Linked DNA regions of Homo sapiens: regions 2 and 3 are each linked to region 1. Evidence: promoter capture Hi-C in human tissues and cell types (Jung and others, 2019). All regions are on one chromosome and are shown on one strand. Each heading gives the region's core, a stretch centred on a gene start or on the middle of the fragment in contact. The rest is flanking DNA. Distances are from core to core; before and after follow the strand shown. Region 1 holds the start of SCP2D1 (SCP2 sterol binding domain containing 1). Region 2 has its middle 59 kb from the start of SCP2D1-AS1. Region 3 overlaps DTD1 (D-aminoacyl-tRNA deacylase 1).

Region 1 (4,498 bases), core at 783-3,282:
GTCTTCTTTCACTCAGCATAATTATTTTGCCATTTATCCACATTGTCATTTGTGTGTATGCCAATCATTTCTTCCTTTTCATGGCTAAGTAATATTCCATGGTATGACACCGCACAATTTGTCCACCCATTCACCTGTTGATGAACATGTGGCTTGTTTCCAGTTTAGGACTACTCCCAACACAGCTGCCATGAACATTCACATGCATGCGAGTGTTTATTTTATGCTTGTACATATGCTTTCTTTTCTCTTAACAAAATACCCAAGAACAGAATGGTGGGATTATTTGGTAGGCGTGTATTTGAGCATGGCAGTTGTGATGAAACTTCCACCCAGGTTTCAGAGTGTCCACACTGTGTAGGTGTTTGAGCATGGCAGTTGTGATGAAACTTTCCTCTAGGTTTCAGAGTATCCACACTGTGTATATTTAGCCCACAAGTCAAAGGTACACACAAACCACATGTGAACCAAGAACACACACACACTCACCCACAAGGAGTTTGCATCAGCTGCAACAGACTTCATCCTATCCTCCCAGACAACATGTGAAGGGAGCTTCCGGAAGGGAAATCTCCCAGGCTGCCCTCTGATTTTGTAAAATGTTCAATGCACAAGCTCCTGACAGCATGGATACTTTATAAATGGCTCACAGAGGGCTGTGGGGTCTGTCTCTGGGAGATCCTTTAATTAATGGCACCATCTCATTGGCCTAGAATAGAATAGTTACAGTCAATACTGAGAGCTTTGGCATGAAGTGAAGCAGAGCTGGAATTCTCTAAGGGTGGTGCCATCAGCATCCCCTGGGAACTTGTTAGAAATGTGCATTCTCTCCAGCCCAGATTTCCTGAGTAGAAGCTCTGAGATGGAGCCCAGCAATCCAGACTTTAACCAACCTTTCCGGTGATTCTGATGCATGCTCCAGTTAAGAACCACTGGCCTAGAACACCTCCCAAGCCCTTCAAGTTTCTTGGAATTGAAACCATCAGAAATTATAATACACCAACAGCACCATCCCCTCTATTGCCTGGGTTCCACCCACAGACCTGTGGTGCCCCATTCCCTTAGCACCCCACAGTCTCATAGTAAAGTTTCCTCATGGAATCAAGTTACCATGCAGAATGCACACCTGCACAATGATAGTTATCACTTCTTTCCCCAAAACATCAAACTTTTTTAGAAAAGGAAAAATGTCTCAAGAACACAATCATTGGAGTATTTAATTCCAATGATCATAATCACCCATTTCTTTACACGTGGCTCTCACCCTGGCATAAATGGAGCATAAAGGGCATAAATGGAGCTAAAAAAAGAGAAAAAGACAAAGATTCTAATTGATGCACTACAACGCTTTTTACTGCTTCAGAACCCTCCCTGAAAATTTACCCATCAACAGGAAAATCAATTAAACTTGAATAGGAAGAATTTGAGTAAAAATATTGGATACTTTTTACTTTAATCTTCAGATTAAGCATGATTTCCACTCGACATTATCATCGAAGAGAAGTTCTTCCTTGGTATTTTTGCATGCTTAAAATTTAGCCCAGTCTTTGAAAACCCTTTCCAGCTTCCAGCTAAGCAGAACCTTGCCACTCACTTTGAACTTTCCGGCAAGGAAAGCCTTCTGCGGGTTCATTTTGCCCAAAACCAGCTCCATAAAGACAGACTCCGGGATTGTAAAGACAGTGTCTGCTGGGAGCCTGGCAGGTCCCGGATACATGTCCCCAGAACCATTCTTCAGATCAATGGTCCACCGCAAAATGGTCTTCCCATTTTTGGTGATGTCCAGCTGAAAGACGGCATTGACTTTCTTGACCAATTGAGCTCCCACTTCCCTGATGTGAAGCCTAATGTCCTGAAACACTGGGAAGCTCTCAAATTCTGACAGCTCTAGAGGATGTGGCATGGCAGGTTCTGGAACTGAACCCAGAACCTCGAACTGGCCCACCAGAGGTCCATCCTCTGCTTTGATCTTGGGTTGATGGTCACTTCTCTTCCACATCTTCCTGTGCTAGTCCCCTGGACCTTGCCATCTAGTCTGTGAGCAGCTGTGACCAGATTAATACCCACAGGTCAGATTGTGACATCAAAGGTAAGGCCAAGTGGGGACTGAAGCTGGTGTGTGTGCTACAGTCTTATTGGCCAAACAAATGATAACGTGTGACCTCAGATAAGGGCTCAGACAGGCCATTGTGAGGCAGATCCACACACACACGCCCCTCCCAAACCAATCAGGGATGTTGGTCCTGCAAGCCCAAAAGGTCTGCAGGCTGCAATGGGGTTAAGGGAAACTGGCCCCAGAAGCTTCTTTAGTGACATGAGCTCTGTCTTTCCAATGCAGACATCTCCTCAGTGAAACCCAACGTGAGACAGAAGTTATTCTTATTCCTCTAAAACTAGGTAACACTTAAGTCCCATTAAGTGGGTAATACTTAAGTTAATACTACAGATCCTAGTGCTGAATTTGGCTTTATCTGGCTGCTGGTAGAAAGGGAAATGCTTTTAGGCCAGAGTAATTGATTGGAGAAGGAATCAGTCCAGGAGCCTGCATCAGAAACTTTCCAGAAGCACAGTGAGACACACACAGAGAGATTAAATGTCCCTAAGATCAGAAGATGCTGCCAGTCTCCTCTGATAATTACACGTAATAGTATAGCCCTTGCTCTGGGCCAAGGTGCAGAGTTCTAAGTACTACACATGTATTAACACATTTAACTCTCATTACAACCCTCTATGATAGGTATTTTTTCTTTTTTTTTTTTTTTTTTGAGACAAGGTCTTGCTCTGTCACCCAGGCTGGAGTACAGTGGCGCGATCTCTGCTCACAGCAGCCTCTGCCTCCTGGGCTCATTTGATCCTCCCACCTCAGTCTCCCAAGTAGCTGGGAATACGGCGTGTGCCACCACACCTGGCTAATCTTTGTACTTTTTGTAGAAATGGGGTTTCACCATGCTGCCCAGGTTGGTCTCAAACTCCTGGGCTAAAGTGATCCACCTACCTCGGCCTCCCAGATAGGTATTCTTTTTATCCCCATTTTACATATAAGGAAACTGAGGGGAGAAATGAAGTAACTTGCCCAATGTCACACAGTTAGTAAGTAGTGTAGCCAGATTTGAGGAGAGGCAGAATGACTCCAAAGTCCACCTGTTTATTTCTTTACTTTTTATTCTGAAATAATTTCAGTCTTATAAAAAGTTTGCAAAAATAGTACCTGTTTAACCTTCTCCCAGCTTTCCCCAAAACTAACATCTTATATAATCACAGTACAGTGATCTAATCTGAGAAATTCACATTGGTTCATGACTACTAACTAATCTACAGACCATGTGAGACCATATCTATTTGGTTGCAGGTCTCCCTAGTGCCTTGCAGTCTGGGGCAGCTCTTCAATCTTTGTCTATCGTTACCTTGACACTTGAATACTGGCCAGTTATTCCCAAAAATGTCCCTCCTTTGAGGACTGCCTGATGCTTTCTCCTGGTTAGGTGGAGGTTATGCATTTGGGACAAGGATGCCACAGAGGTGACCTGTGCTCTTCCCACTGTGCCATAGCAGGCGTCCATGATGTTATGTCCCATTTCTGCCGATGTTGTCCTTGATCACTTGGTTAAAGCGGCTCCTTCAGGCTTCTGCACTGTAGAGTTACTGTTTTTCCCTCTGTGATTAGTATCTTTAGGGGAGGTGCCTTGAGACCTTGCAAATGCCCTGTTTTGCATCATCCTCTGGCCTACTCTTGTTGCATCCATCCATGGCCCATCCCTGCAGCAATCAGTGTGAGGTAGGCCCAGCAGTCATCTTCTATGCTTCTTACTCCCTTGAGATTTAATAACTGGAATTCTGCTCTAAGGAAAATTGCCCTCTTCTCTCCCATTTCTTTATTTGTTCAATTATTTATTTATCTCAGCATGGACTTGTGGGTATTTGTTTATTCTGTGGGTCATAATCTACTATTATCATTGTTTATTTCCTTGCTAAATTGTCCCAGATTTGGCCATAGGGAGCTTCATCAAGTTGGAGCCTGTATCCTTTCCTATACCAAACTGCTCTTATGTGTAAGCAAAGCTCTGTTATATGGAGTTGCTGGAAACTTCGTTCTTTCTGGGAATGTTGCAGAAGAATGAAAAAGGCTTCAAAGTACATTTGCAAAGATGGATGAGCTGCTGTTATCAAAGCTGAGCAGTTAAACAAAGCCCAGTGTCTTCCAAAACCATGTTCTTGCCATGAGGTCACCAGGTATGGACAACATCAGCACAGAGATTTTAAAATGAGGAGGGCAGGAATTCCCCAGCAAGTTCACTATAAGCAGTCAACAAAGAACTGAGCCCCACCACTGCCCGTATCTCATTTTCCTCAAAGACAGCGCCGTCCCATCTAAATTATTCAGGCAGGTCCCCAATAGGGCTGTCATTCTCCTGCCACAGTGTGTCCGAGGGGAATGCAGTTCCACAGCTCATACATAAGAAATCCAAAACATGCCAGGACTCAAGGGAGCACTTCCCCA
Region 2 (4,498 bases), core at 1,039-3,538, 75 kb before region 1:
GAAACACCAATAGGTTAGGCTCTGGCAAAACAGTTCCTCTTGAGGGCAGGCCTTGTTGAGAAGTGAATGCTCTGGCATTCTGACTACCCATGCCAGAAACTCAAGATTTTTTTTTCTCTAATCTTCACTGTAAGAATCTAGTAGAGTTCCAGGAAGTAAAATTTACAAAAGTATGAAGGCCTCTCATATCTGGATCCCCCTGGAGTTTTTAGTTCTCAGACTTATCCACACTGAGCTCCCATCAGTTCATCAGTTACAGTTCAGGTTTTCTACCCTGGCACTGGTTCTCACAGAACTTTCTTCCCAAAAGAAATCAATAGCCATTATGGTTTAGAGCACCAGCTGTGGGGTTGGACAAATAGGAGTTCATGTTTTAGCTCATCTATTTCCTATTAAATAGTTGTGAGATTATAAACAAGTTACATGCCCTTGCCAAGTCTTAGCTTCCTTAGCTTAAAATGATGAAAATAGTTCTGCATTCACAGTTATCATGAAGATTAAATATTAATTACAAATATTGCATAGGACATACTTATACAATGCTTTGTACAGAGCAAGTGATCAACAAATGGTTATTGGTACTGTTATCACCATTATGCAGACTCTAATTATTTCACTCAGGACCTACCCTGCTCAGATGCTCTGCGTTAATGGGTTCCTATAGTCAAGTGGCATTTGCTGCTGTGGAAAGAGGCCTGGGATGGCATTGTTTAATTAATCATATCTTTATCCAGGTGGCACAAGTCTTTGGTGGACTTTTAGAGGTAAGAAAACCAAACAGCTACTGTAGTGTGGCAGCAATGGAGGCAAAGGAGATTGTTCCCATGGTTGCCATGGGTCAGAGACGGGCAGCCTCACCATTTGTCTGGTGAGAGGTCTCATGCATCGGCAGTGAACTGCAAAGGGCACAGATGCCAGAAACCAGGGAATGTGAGCCCTGAAGCACACACCTGTATCTGGAGAGGTCAATTCATGACACTTTACAATTGGGGCCCTGACCAACGTGAATTACAAAGGGAGCAAGATAATGAGCTATCATCAATAGCAAGATGGGAACTAAAACTAGAGCACTGGGTCTCAAGCTTCAGCTAGCATCAGAATCACCTGGAAGTCTCATTGAACCACAACTTACTGAGCCGCACCCCGAGGAGTTTCTGATTCCATAGGTCTGGGGTGTAGGGTGTAGGGTTACTAGATTTACACATAAAAATAGGATTCCCAGTTAAGTTTGAATCTCAGTTGAACAACATTATTTTTAGTATTTAGGCCCACATATTGCATAGGACATACTTATACAAAAAGAAAAAAAAAAAAGAAGTCATTATTGCTTATCTGAAGCTCAAGTTTTCCTGAGCATCCTGTATTTTTTCTGACAACCTTACCGGAGTGGATCCCAAATGTTCCCATTTCTAACAAGTTCCCACTTAATGCTGATGCTGTTTGTCCAGAAACCGCACTTAGAGAACCACTGGCCAATTCAGACACACCTTCAGCAATTTCCAATTCAATTCTGAGTGCTAAAGGTTGGCGTTTTCCATCCGGGAGGTAAATACCTAAGTACCTTCATATGGTGCCTGAGGACCAGGTAAGCTGGGTGCCTTTGACAGCTCTGTCTGCCTTGGTAAAGGAGAAGTGGTTCTTAAAAACTCACCCCTTAAACTAAGTGATTATAATAATTTCAACAACAGAGCTAACCTTCTCGGGATAGTGGAAATTTGATTTTCTTGGCTAAATTTGTGCAGACTACCACAGAAATTAGCCCTGCAAGTTTTGTGAGTAGGAGATACTGATTTCCTGATGACAACGAGCTGTTCGTTCGCATCTGGCAATCAATCATCTCCTTTGTTTTCCATTGCAGTTTCTTTCTGATTACTACACAGACATTTCCTCCCTCCCTTTGCGCAGAATCATAGGTGATAATAAATGTTCATATGTCTGGTAGGTGATTCTGTTTGCCAAGCCATTGTTTGTTCTTTATAATCAAGCCCAGGTCTGTGAGTAAGAGTTTCACCTTGGTATGAGGGTAGTTCTTGTCATTTATTTTCCAGGCAAGAGATTGCTTTTTCCATGATTGTATGTTTTTATGTGCATGAACCATCCGTAAAGAAAAGAGAATAAAAGCCTGAATAAAAAGAAACCAAAGAGAGCATATTAAGTAAAATTGACCATTTTTTATTGAGTGACAGCTTTATGCACAGGCTGCACTCTGTTGTTATTCCCTGTCTTCTCTCCCTATATTTCGATCCGTGATGGTCAACATCAGCTGTAGAGTGGGTCCACTTGAGCAGCTTGAAGACGCCTACCCTGGGGTCCCCCACCAGAAATGCAAATTTAATTGGTCTAGGCATAGCCTGACCAAGGGCAGTTTTTAAAGCTCCCTAGATCATACGATCATGTTAGTAAACTATTAGGCATTAAAGTTGAACATACAGTCTATTATTATTCGCAGTAGTATATGTTCTATAAAGTCACAGTGAACATCAAATTGGTGACTACTGAACCACTGCTCCTAGGGGAACTGCAGGATTAGATGCCTGCCAGCCCTTGATCACAAGATTTTGGTCAGCTAGCCAGGCGCGGTGGCTCATGGCTGTAATCCTAGTATTTTGGGAGGCTGAGGTAGGAGAATTGCTTGAGTCCAGGAGTTCAAGACCAGCATGGGCAACATAGAGACCCCCATCTTTACCAAAATTTTTTTAGAAAATTAGCCAGAGGCAGTGATGTATGCCTGTAGTCCCAGCTACTAGGGAGGCTGAGATGGGAGGAGGGCTTGAGCCCGGGAGGCTGAGGCTGCAGTGAGTAGTGATTTCAGCACTGCACTCCAGCAGCAACAGAGTGAGACACTGTCTCAAATTTAAGAAAAAGACTTTACTTAGCCAATCAATACATAACCTTGTTTTACATGTGTTTATGTTTAAAGACCTCTTACTTAATTTATATTGTTGATAACATTCATATTAATCTAATGCCTGGAACAAAGTTTATCTAGCCCATGTATTTTCTCCAAAAGGCACATCCCAGCCTTCTTATGCTTAGGAACACTACATAGCACTTCAGCACTACACTTGGTGCTGGCATTTAAAACAGTGAAATCACTCTTCAAAAACATACAGAAATGCAAAATACAGGGCACTAGCTACACAGCAGTTTACAGCACGAGGACTGAAACAAGAAGGCGGGGCCTTGCCATGTTCAGGCTTACTGGGAATGTGCACATCAATTGACTCAAATTTTTCACCTCTCTGCACATGTCCATCAATGACTGTGAAAGTGCCATGAGTATTGATTTTTGAGGCTACAAATATATTTTAGCAAACAGGCAAATTTGCAAATACAGTATCCATGAATAATGAGGATTGACTCTACATGTACCCTCAGACCCAGCAATTTCACTCTTAGAGAAGTGAGAACATAGGTCTACAAAATGATAAGTGTAAGAATGTTCAGAGAAGCTTTACTAGTAATAGTCCAAACCTGGAAGTAACTCAGTCATCCATCAACAGGAGAATGGATAAACTGTAACATATTCAAACAATGAAATACTAAGCAGCAATATAAAAGAACTATCAATGCACTCAACAACACACATGAATCTCAAAAACATTAGGTTGAGCAAAAGATGCCAGACACAAAAGACCACACATGTTATACAGAATTGAAGATCAGGTGAAATTAATCTGCGGTGACAGAAAACAGAACAATGGTTACCTTCAAGTGTTGATAGGAAGGAACATAAGGTCTCCTCCTGGAGTGCTGGAAATATTCTATGTCTTGATTAAGGTAGTGGTTACACAGATGTTATGTACGTAAAAATCCATCAAACTGTACAGCTAAGATTAGAATGTTCCACTTTATAGTATGTATGATATATTTTTACCTCAATTTTTGAAAAAACTGCCAATGTGACTCTAATGTACAGCCAAACTTAGGACAGCTAAGAAATTTTTAGAGAAATTTCTGAGCCCCATGAATGCTCTGGTCATTCCAAATTATGCTGCCAGTTCCACCTTTGGGATCATCCTCAAGTAACAGCCTGCAGGATGAGATCCATGCAACCCAGCTTTTAAAACCAGAAAACCATAGAATAGCAGAGCTGGAAGGAAACTCGAATGTCATCTAGTGCCAAGATGACTAATCAGTTTCATCTTGAGTGCTAATCCTGGCTAATTTGTAATGGCTGCCTGGAATTCTGGATTCAGAAAGAGTCTAAGAGTGTATCCAAATATAGTGGGAAGGACATTGCATGACCAATTAGCAATGTCTGGCTTGTGCACAATCAGGAGAGATATATGTGCTGTCCTTGTATTTGCCCACCAGTCTAGTCCAGACTTCTCCTTTTTCATGCACAGATATTGAAACCCAGAGAAATGACTTGCTAAAGTTCACCTTGGTAGTCAGTGGCAAAAGCAATATTAAAACAAAGTGTTTTCTGAGTGGCCTTATCACTCCATGAGATGAGGTTGGTTGCTAGAAAGGATGGAAGTGGGAATGAGGAACC
Region 3 (4,498 bases), core at 801-3,300, 75 kb after region 1:
ATGCCCTCTCAGTTTTGTTTCTCATCTTCAGAGATTAAAAACAAAACAAAACAAAACAAAAAAAAAACAAAATGTGAATATCAACAGTCACAAAATTAAATAAACCTCCTCCCCCTTGCTAAGTAATCTCATGCAAAGGCCTCTTTGTGACCCAGCCTGTTCTTCACTTTGTACTCTTTTATGCTATTGAGAACCAGATCCAGAGAGGACGATGGGGAGTAACCCCAATTAGCACAGCCCTCTGGAGGCTTCTCAGCTCCTCGTAGTGTCATTCGACTCTGTGCTGAGGCAGAGGCACAGACACCACAGATGCAGAAACATCCATCTGACCTTCCCCTCCAACCCTATCCCCTCCCACCGAGAGCCAGCTTTTAAATCACATGTGATAACTATTTAAATGACAGGCACAGCCCACATTTCTGCCAGTGATGTAATGCTGACTCTCTTACAGTATTTATCTTAAAACAACCCAACCACATATGGCTCCATGCCGCAAACTCAAGTTCTCTGTGAGAACATTGTGAACTAACCTAATAAATTTAAGCCTTTTCTGGGAAAACTTGGAATCCAATGCAGCCAAAATGTGGAATTTACATCTCAAAGCAAGAAAGCAGCTGGATTTTTTTTTTTAAGGAAACAAATGAGAAAAAAGAAGAAGAAAAGAAACTGGTACTGCATATGAGCTCAAGCAAAATGTCAACAGCTTTCAAATTAAGAGGAGATGCATGTCAAGGAGAATATAAACCACTACAGGTCTGTGAACATACAATCTACAAACACTGAAATAGAGTACTTCTGGGTTTTTGTCTGTTTGCTTGTTTTTAATCAACTGGCAAGAAAGCCCACATTGTAAGGGAGAGACTGTCCAAACCATGCTGGCTTTAGCGCCTTAGAGAGAAACCCAGCCTTCCAAAAGCTGCCCTGGACACACAGACACCACCAGGGGCCAGGTGATGATCCTGTGGTCAGCCTGCACCTTTCACAGTGAAGCTTGGGAACACGTGTGCCAAAAGAGGGGGGACTGGAATATGCAGATCCAGACTCACCCAATTCATGATTAAATCCACTGAAAACATAAGCGTTTTTCTTTTTAATTAAGATGCCCAAGCTCTAATTGCACAATCTAAGAATGAACTAGTTGAACATTGATCTTATAATGCCTGATTTCAGGGCCTGCAAACTTAAATGCCTTGAGAGACCAGCCAGGAAGCAAAATGAGTTAAGTGGCCAAGAGTAAGACAATATGGCAGGGTGGAGCCTGAGGCCACACTGCAGAGGACAAGCTCCACCTAAGGCCTTAGGACACACTGCAGAGGACAAGCTCCACCTAAGGCCTGAGGCCACACTGCAGAGGACAAGCTCCACCTAAGGCCTGAGGACACACTGCAGAGGACAAGCGCTACCTAAGAACATTCGCACTTTCTTTTCAAACATGTATCTGGACCATAATGTTGATGGGGTGCATATGTGTCACCTGTTAGGGATCCCCACTTAGCATTTCCACCTATGTGACCTTGTTTGCTCTTAATAACCTGATAGTAGTTGAATGATCATCAATGTCCCACAGAGAAGCCACTGCCAGCTGCCTACACCGCAGCTACTCATCTTCCCAGCCCCTTCCTCCCTCCCTGCTGGCAGGAGTCTCCTACTTCAGAGGTGGCAATGTCTGGTTCTCCTGTCACATGGCATGTGACACAAACCATAGCCAACAAGACCTGAGGGGACTGCAGAGGGTCTTTGGAAAAAGGCTTCCCTCCCTAATAAACACAGGTGAGAGGAAACACTGCCTTCCTTCCTATCCTTGGCCATAGTCAGGGGAGGAAACGGAGCTTCGGAATGGTGCAGCTCTCAAAACGAGGAGGGGACATCCAGAGGTGCACAGAAGTCTCTGGAGAGCCCCGGCAGAGTTGAGCCAGCTGAACCAGCTTTCCCCTTAGGGGAGGCAACCAGGCTCCTTACTGTTTAAGCCACCCTCACGTTATAAGCCACCCTCATGTAGGTTTGTGGCACTTGAAGTTGAAAGCAAAATCTTACACCACATGCCCATGGACATAAACAAGACAGCAACGCCCAGCAAGGTCATGTGACTTGCTTAAGGTTTTGCAGCCTGCTAGCGGCTGAGGGGGACCACACCCAGGCCTCCAGACGCCAAACCCCGCATTCTTCCCAGGGAGCCACATGACCTCTCTTGCTTAATCTATTAACTTCACTTAGCAGTTAACTGTTGGGCACTGACTATACCTACTCTAGGTGCCAAGGACACAGCAGAAAACCAAGCAGAGCCCTGCCTTCCTGAGGCTGACTGTCCACTGGAAAAATAATTGGCAATCCCCACTCACACGAAGCCAGGCCTGCTCTAAGCACTTGATGTGTATTAGGGGTAAAGCAGAGGAACCTGGGGGTGCTTCGAGCCCCCACCATTCTGCTGTTGCCCTCTGTAGCCGCACACTTGTCTTCATGGGTAGAAAGCATAAAGGGACCTCAGAGCCATCTCCATTTGCCAAATTAAAGAGAAACTGGTCCTAACCTTGGTCCAGCTCCTTGGTGGTTTAGCAACATGCTGCTGCAGGACTCAATTCGTCCATCCTTTTCTGTCCCGAAGGCTGAAGAAGCCAGAGGATCAAATACAATTACCGGCAACAGTTTAACTCAACCAGTAATAGGGCTGGCTAAGAGCAGAGTGGGGAAGCCTCAGAAGTGACACAAGCCTAGTGTTGGCTCTCTGATGTCCCTGGCACTTGGCCTCAGGAAAGGGCCCTGTGTGCCTGTCAGTGGCAGTGGGAGAAGCAGATCAGAGTGAGGGAGCAGAGTCTGACCCGGGCCCACCTGCTGACCCAAGGCAGCCCAAGGCAGGGGAAGCCCAGCAAATGGGACATGGACACTCAGGACCAAGCCCTCAGGTGATGGCCTAAGAATGCAGTTAGCATCCGCACATCCTAGTGGGGCCACTGGGTGGCCAAAGTATGGGGGGGTCTCCAGGGCAGGCAAGCCCCAAGTTTGGGGAGGGCCAACGAAAGCTGTGCTGGGAGTGGGAGTCAGGTCCTGGTTGGGGGTGAGAAGGCAGGGGCACTCCAGGGACTGGCATCACCCGAGTGTCTACTCACTCCCAGGCACACCGTGGCAGATGGCACATGGCAGGGCAGTGTGTCTGAGCAGAAAGCAACACACAGAGATGACTGAAGACAAGGATGTTAGGGCCACACAGGCAAAGGCAGAAGAACAGAGGCCCAGATGAGAGTAGGGTGACAGGAGGGAAGGGCCGAATGAGGGGCACCCTAGGCAGAACTGAAGCATTATTGTCGGGAGTGGCAGAGGAGTTGAGGCAACACCAGTGAAAATCATCATCAGAGACTTCAGACAGGACCGGCACGGCAAGGCAGCAGGGCAGGCTTGGACACAGGCATTGGGCAGGAGCCCGAGCCACCCATTAGCTGAGATGGACACAGTGATGTGGCTCGTGTGGCCACAGATGAATGACTGAAGAAATGAATGGACAGGACAGGTTTTGTTTGCAAGATCAGGCCAGGCAATAGCCTCAGAGGGCACAGAGGCTCAAGCTTTTATGCCAGCTGAGTAGCAAAACTGAACAACTCTTCACCAGCACTCAGAGGGCATAGGTGTTGGCAATGGCAGGTGAGGGGCTTGCCTTCGGAGTTGGGGTATCTGTCTCTTAAGCAGGCAGCAGGCCACTGGGAAGAAAAAAACAGAGGCTCTTGGGCAGCCAGTCAAGGTCTGTTTTTCTGTACATGATATGCCCAGGGCAAGGAGAGGGGGTGGCTGCAAGGTGCACACGCCCTGAGTCGTGCAAAGCACCAGATCAACAGGGAATTGCGATTTGCCTCTGTTCCTTCACACACATAGCATCACTCATGAAGCACCTTGAAAGACAGATCCCTTCACACTGTGGGATGATCCAGGGTGACGATGACACAGAACATGAAATGAATAAGGAAGTTCAGGCTCCCATGGACACTAATGAGGCAGAGGGCGCACCTTTGTGAACAAATTGGAGAGCTGAGCACTTTGTGTCCAGTTGGACTCTAGGCCACCTGAAGATTCCACTCACTCCAGGGGAAAATCAGACAAGGTGAGCTGCCTGCAACCAGCAGCACTTACCTAGGCTTGAAGGATTAAAACCTAGCCCACAGGAACACGATGTCTGCTGTTGCCATCACCCCCATATCTCTCTCAGGAACACCCAAGTTTACCAGGCCATTAAGCACTAGATTTAGCCATGAAGGGGTTCTAGAAAACTGATTTATGGGCAAGTCCTTTCAGAACACAGGTGCCCGGAAATCCCTGAAAGGAAGGATTACTCTAGAGTATGGATGTCCAACCTTTTGGCTTCCCTGAGCCACATTGGAAGAAGAAGAATTGTCTTGGGCCACACATAAGATACACTTACACTAATGATAGTTGATGAACTACTGAAAAAAAAGAGTCTGTGCATACTTTTCATGATATCTGCCACCACAGAGAAGCAAAAAAGTCCTTAAAT

The links. Contacts are between HindIII fragments. The study calls those that stand out against the background at their distance.
Region 2: a contact is called between a fragment that was not itself captured here and the fragment with the promoter of SCP2D1 in region 1, in 2 of the 25 tissues and cell types used here (heart left ventricle and lymphoblastoid cells).
Region 3: a contact is called between a fragment that was not itself captured here and the fragment with the promoter of SCP2D1 in region 1, in 2 of the 25 tissues and cell types used here (IMR-90 fibroblasts and dorsolateral prefrontal cortex).

Annotation. Positions count from the first base shown.
Region 1 is chr20:18,811,317-18,815,814 of GRCh38, reverse strand. SCP2D1 (SCP2 sterol binding domain containing 1) reads right to left here and starts at 2,032. Exons shown (of 1, transcript NM_178483.3): 1 at 1,437-2,032. The coding sequence starts at 1,999. The coding sequence ends at 1,529. The region is part of intron 2 of SCP2D1-AS1 (SCP2D1 antisense RNA 1); the gene reads left to right. The HindIII fragment of the contact is 11,706 bases long and covers 1-4,498 here.
Region 2 is chr20:18,886,624-18,891,121 of GRCh38, reverse strand. No RefSeq gene overlaps it. Among named protein-coding and RNA genes, the nearest start is that of SCP2D1-AS1, 59 kb to the right of the region's middle. The HindIII fragment of the contact is 4,771 bases long and covers 1-4,498 here.
Region 3 is chr20:18,735,879-18,740,376 of GRCh38, reverse strand. All of the region lies in intron 4 of DTD1 (D-aminoacyl-tRNA deacylase 1), which reads right to left. Among named protein-coding and RNA genes, the nearest start is that of DTD1-AS1, 39 kb to the right of the region's middle. The HindIII fragment of the contact is 5,840 bases long and covers 1-4,498 here.